Linked DNA regions of Homo sapiens: region 1 is linked to region 2. The links are contacts of gene promoters, found by promoter capture Hi-C in blood cells and fetal thymus (Javierre and others, 2016). All regions are on one chromosome and are shown on one strand. The core of a region is centred on a gene start or on the middle of the fragment in contact, and the rest is flanking DNA. Distances in the headings are between cores, read along the strand shown.

The links. The method cuts DNA at HindIII sites, captures the fragments that hold promoters and counts their contacts. A CHiCAGO score of 5 or more calls a contact.
Region 1: a fragment that was not itself captured here is called in contact with the fragment with the promoter of CACNG3 in region 2 in 4 of 17 cell types (erythroblasts, total CD8 T cells, endothelial precursors and 1 more); the score reaches 7.2 in erythroblasts.

What each region holds. Positions count from the first base shown.
Region 1 is chr16:24,058,334-24,061,474 of GRCh38, reverse strand. The region is part of intron 5 of PRKCB (protein kinase C beta); the gene reads right to left. Among named protein-coding and RNA genes, the nearest start is that of MIR1273H, 140 kb to the left of the region's middle. The HindIII fragment of the contact is 1,911 bases long and covers 498-2,408 here.
Region 2 is chr16:24,255,073-24,257,897 of GRCh38, reverse strand. It overlaps CACNG3 (calcium voltage-gated channel auxiliary subunit gamma 3), which reads right to left and starts at 1,563. Exons shown (of 4, transcript NM_006539.4): 1 at 933-1,563. The coding sequence starts at 1,143. RefSeq lists an enhancer at 1,088-1,815. The HindIII fragment of the contact is 7,529 bases long and covers 730-2,825 here.

The DNA.
Region 1 (3,141 bases), core at 204-2,703, 200 kb after region 2:
AGGAAGGCACTTCCAGATAACCTATTCTCTAATCACAACTCTGAAAAACTGTATATATCAGGGCACTCCTGTGTGTGTGTTTAGGAAACCTGTTCATTCACTTATTCAATTAATGGCCGCATGTGGTGGCTCATGCCTGTAATCCCAGCACTTTGCGGGGCCAAAGTGGGCAGATCACTTGAGCTCAGGAGTTTGAGATCAGCCTGGCCAACATGGCAAAACCCCGTCTCTACTAAAAATACAAAAATTAGCTGGGTGTGGTGATGCACACCTGTAATCCCAGCTACTTGGGAGGCTGAGGCATAAGAATTGCTTGAATTCGGGAGGCGGAGGTTGCAGTGAGCCAAGATCATGCCACTGCACTCCAGCCTGAGCAACAGAGCAAGACCCTGTCTCAAAAAAAAAAAGATTAAAAATTATTAACAAGCACCTATTATGTACCTAGACATGGTGACACAAAATGAACAAGACAGAATAGTCAGTCCCTACAAAAAGCTTATATTTTAGAGAAAAGATACAAACATTAAACAAGGCATCTTAAGTCGGGTTCCCTGAAAAAAGACTGATCTGGATATTGTATGCAGGCGGCTTCTCAGGGAATAACCTTGGGAGGAACTCCTGCAAGGAATGGGGGAAGCAGGATGAAATCGAGAAACTGAACTGCAATGTAGCTGCAACAGAGGTGTCACCTGATCCATGAGGGAGCTCTGTAGCTGGGATGGCCCCTTAGACTTGTTCCCTACTGAGGCTGGGGAAGAGCATTTATAAGCCCATTCCCCACCAGCAACCAATCATAGACTGTGAGCTGCCCCTGGAAGAGGGCATAACCTTGGGCACTGCAGCTCCCTCAGGGCAAATCCTACGGAAATACTGAAGCCGTGAGTGGTCAGAGCCAATACTCTGCGTGGCTTGGGGCAGGAGTGCCTCTGTGCTGAGAGAGGGATCCTGGTGGCACACCACAGTATCCACTACACAAGGAAACATTGTAGATGTGATACATGCATAAGGGAGGAAGTTCAGCGCTTAGGGAAGGGGTACCTACCTTAGACTAGGGATTCTCAGGGTCACTGACGTCTTTGCTAAATGCCCTGTACAAAGGAGCTTGGTAGGAGTTCACTAACTAACCCCTCATTATGCACTAAGCGCTGTGAAGGCCCTGAGAGACATTCTTGTTTCATCCTTGCCATGACTCTGCAAGGTACAGGCTACTCTCTCTGCTCGCCAGATGAGGACACTGAGACTCATGGGGCTTCATTAACTTGCCCAAAGTCCCACAGCCAGCATGTGGCAGAGCTGGGACTTGAACACCTATCTTCCTGAAGACAAAGCCTAGGACCGCTTCTGCTTAATTCCTATCCCTATTCCCAGGCACCTTGCTTTCTTCCATTCATGCTATAAACCTGCTCAGATGCCTCTCAGAAATAACTTCCTTCTAAGACGCCTTCCCTGGCCCCTTTCTTCCACAACCCAAATTCTCATGAGTTGTCTACACTCCTCTTTCCACATCCCCTCCTTCAATTCCCTCCTCAACATCCAGCATCCAGGCTTTCCGGCATCCTGCCTCTTAACTCCTACTATGCCACTGAAAGAGCACTTCCCAAGTCCCTAAGTTAAATGACCAAATCCAGTGACTCTGTTCAATTCTTAGCCTCGTGTTTATCATTACCAGTTGGCAGCATCTAAGGTGTTGGCCATATCCACTTTCTTGAATTCTCTCTTCCCTTGGCTTCTATGACCATTTACTCGGCTGGTTCCCCTTCATTCTCTAAAAGCACTATAATTATTACTACTAATAATAATTATTATTCGAGATAGGGTGTCACTCTGTCACTCAGGCTGGAGTGCAGTGCTGTGATCATAGCTTACTGCAGCCTCAAACTTCTGGGCTCAAGGGCTCCTTCCACCTTAGCCTCCCCAGTGGCTTGGACCACAGGCATGCACCACCACACTGGCTACATTAAAAAAAAAAAATTTTTTTTTGTAGAAATGGAGTCTCCCTTTATCATCCAGGATGGTCTTGAACTCCTGGGCTCAAGCGATCCTTCTGCCTCAGACTCCCAAAGTGCTGGGATTACAGACATGAGCCACTGCACCTGGACTTAAAAGCATTATTTTTAAATTCTCCTTCACTGGCTCCTCTTGCTCCACTGATGACTGAAGTGGCTCCATTTCCCAGAGCCTGAACCTTCCTGCTCTTACAGTGCTGCACTAATTCCTGACCCACTCAAAGAATTCAGCTTCCACTGTTAGGGCCGGTGACCCCTGCATCCATACTGTTGGCTCTGTTTTTCCAATCGGATCTCTGGATATACAGATTCATCTGCCTACTGGACACAGTCACCCATGCAACCCAAAAACATCTCAACATATACTAAAGCAAGATGATTACCTTTCCCTTCTGGTAAGCTTCTGTGACTTCTAACCCTAATTGGCTATCACGCTCACTATCCACATGTCTTCCTGAGTCAGAAATCTCTGTTAGTCCTGACTCCTCCATCCTCTCCCTGATCCTCTACATCAATTTATTCTTATCCTTCCACTTCCTTAATTCATGTATGTTTCATCTCCTCCATCCTACAGGGATCAATAGCTCCTGGATGGGTCTCTACAGCTCTAGTCCCTTACATCTTTAATCCTTCTTTTTAATTGTCACCCATGGTAACTAGATCAGGTCATTACCACCTACAATGGCTCACCAAATCCCTAGCATGCTTGAGCAAGCTCTTCTGTGAGCTGGCATTAATCAGACTTCATAGCTACAATCTATGGTCTGAACACACCAGAAACCCTAGGCACCTTCATGGTAACATTCATGCTTCTCTCATGTGGTTACACTTCAGCCTAGAAGTCCAACTTTTTAACTATTTATTCAGGTCATTCAATGTCTGATTCAGGCATTAATCAGACTTCATAGCTACAATCTATGGTCCAAACACACCAGAAACCTAAGGCACCTTCACAGGGCATGAAGGTTACGTTTCATGGTAACTTTCAAGGTTCACTTGTGTGGTTACACTTCTGCCTAGCAGCCCACCGTTTTTGGTTTTTTTTTTTAACCTATTTAGCCATTTACTCAGCAAACTCTAATTGTGCATCTGTACATGTCAATTGTGCACTGCACTAGCACAAAGTGGCATAAAA
Region 2 (2,825 bases), core at 314-2,813:
AGAGTGACTTCTGGTGTGGTGAAAGCAAGTTTAATAGTGTGATAGGCTACAAAAGGGCTTTATATTTTTAAATTGCTCTTTCTTCTTCATTATAAGTTATAACTACTCCCTAATTTTTAGAACTAGAAATGACGAACTGCAATTCTTGGAGAATCAGTCTTTTGTAAATGTCATGGAAATACCTTTTTAGGGGTTTGGGAATGATTTAGGAATGAAGACAGGTGGATACAAAATACCAAGACTTCAGTTTTGTTGTGATCCAAACTAATAAAACATGTATCAATAAGGATTTTTTCTTAAAATGTGTGCATAGGGTGTGGGTGGGAGTAGGGGTTTACATATGTTACCCTGTTACTGATTGGCAGTGGAAGTTCATGACAATATCTAGTTAGAGCAAACTCAGGAGAAACTGATAAGTCTATGTTGAGAAATAATGAAATAGCTCAGAATGTGCCAGACCGGGTCAGGATCTCTCTCTCTCTCTCTCTCTCTCTCTCTCTCTCTCTCTCTCTCTCTCTCTCTCTCTCTCCCCCCTCACTTCTTTCCTCTTGTCCCTTCTCCTCCCTTCCCTCCCCCTCCCTTCGAAATCCAATTTAAGCAGGGTTAAAGACCCCATCTCAAGCCAGAGATCCAAGCAGTTGACAATATGCCTAGGGATTTTGGATTTGAAGACTTTTCTAAACTGCAGAAGCTGCCTAGAGTGTGACAAAAATCTCATCTCATGAAGCTTATACTAAAAACAATCAACAAGACCCAACCCCTTTAACCCACATGGCGTCAGTCTTGCTGTTAACAGAGTCTGGGCACCTGCACATTCTCAGCAATAATTTGAACTTCTCTTCTTTCCTTATCACCATTTCCATCTCCTCCAAACACCCACCAGAATATCAGAACTGGATTATTCAGAGCTATTGAGAGGAAATTGTAAATACCTTCTAGGCAGCAGGTCCTCCACAGCCCCGAATGGGTCATTACTTCTTCATTCTTCCTGCTGGTTTCATTATCACTTGTAGATTTAGTCCTGCACACACCTCTGGAATATAACCAGTAGTCCGTGCCCACTGCAATGGTCATTAAACTAAAAGCGGCAAAGGCTCCTACAGTGGTGATCAACATCTGGATACCTCTGTCACACATCCTCATAATTCTTCATGGTACTCTGGACGGCTGGGGGTTGGAGGGGGAGAGTCAGTGCCGGAGGGGAAAATCACTCTGCAGCCGGGTAACCTAGTACAGGCTCTTCCAAAAATTCAGGTCTCCTTTTGTCAGCATCCACAGGGACTTTGGGAAAGCTGGGATTTCCTTTCTGGAGCTCTCTCCAGTTCCCTGGGTCGCCTATGGCCCTCGGAAGGGTGCAGGCTCCGGGGGGTTGGTCCGCATCACTGCTGCCTTCTGAGGGTCCCTGGGTTCCTTTCATTCCTCAGGAGCGTGGTAAAGACGAGGGTCCGTGCAGGGCATGGCTCCGGAGCCTGGAGCTGCCAGCTCGGTTTGAGATGCGCCTGGCTTCTCACAGCCCCGGGAGACTCAAGGCAAAGAAACCCAGAGAGGTCTCTGTGTGAGTGTGTGTGTGTGTGTGTGTGCGTGCGTGCGTGTGTGTGCGAGCGCGTGTGCTGGGGGTGAGGGCGGATGGCAAAAAATAGCACTGCTGGGAGGCGAGCCGCTGAGAAGAGTGTTCACTGCTTCCACAGCCTCGCAGGAAAGCTCTCCGCCTGCTCCCGACACCCCCGCTCAAACTGGAGAAAAGACAGAGTCCTGGGGCGGGGGCCGGCTGGTTTCCCTGGGGGCGCCAAGGTCCGTGGTGCTGAAGGGACAGCTCCCCGCCTGTTGCCCCGCCTCCGTCGTCTTAACGCCTAGGCTTTAAGGTCCGTGGTGCCGAAGGGACAGCTCCCTCATGCAGCTGCACACCGCCGCCCGGGCTAGAAACCCGGGGTGCTAAAGGGTCTTTCTTCCCTCACCCCGCCCTTCCCCCGTTCCTTCCCGGGTCAGCCAGCCGGCTCGGCTCTGCCCAGTCAAGCCCACTCTCCGCGCAAAGTTTCTGGAGCCGAGGACAGTCAGCGCCCTGGCTCCTGGGCGCTGCAGCACGACCCGGTTCCTCCGCTCTAGGAAGGGTTAAGGAAAGGGGAAGGGGAGCGAAGCCCGTAGCGCACTCTGGCGCTCCCTCAGCACCCACCCAACGCGGCATTCTTCAATCCTCCCTTTCACCCCATGAGCCAGGCAAGTTTGCCTTTTGCTGCGGGCACCACTGGAGCCCATTGGGGAAAAAGAAGACCCGAAAGACCGAGTCTTCTTAAAGGCACCGGCAGCTCTGGAGACGGCTCTATGGCTCGCTTAGGCGGGCAAAAAGTGTTGTCACAATCACATCTGTGTAGAGTCTGTCTCAATTTGGTTCCCCAGCAAACAAACCAATATGTCTACCCTCCTTTCTCTGGAGCTCTGGTTTACACCGAAGACAACCCGCTCAGATCAGACCCGGAACTGTTCATATATACATGATCATGTATTCCTAAAAGATGGAAGAAGCTAAATATACATAGACTCTGTCATACACATATTAGGGACCTTGGGCAAAAGACTATAAGATTTTGGCCTTTGAATATGCCTTTTATACATTTTAACATATCTACATCGAAGGGGGTGATGGATTCATGGTGGGAGAGTCACTGAAAATGTCAGATTTTGTTCAAAGGTCTCTGAGATATCATTTGTTAACATTGTTATCTAAGTGAGACCATGAAGCAGGTGAAGTTAGGTCTGCTTTGCTTGTTAGTCCAAAGGGCAAATGGCATTGCACACCTGAAAGCTCTCTTCCTTGGAAATAGCCAGTA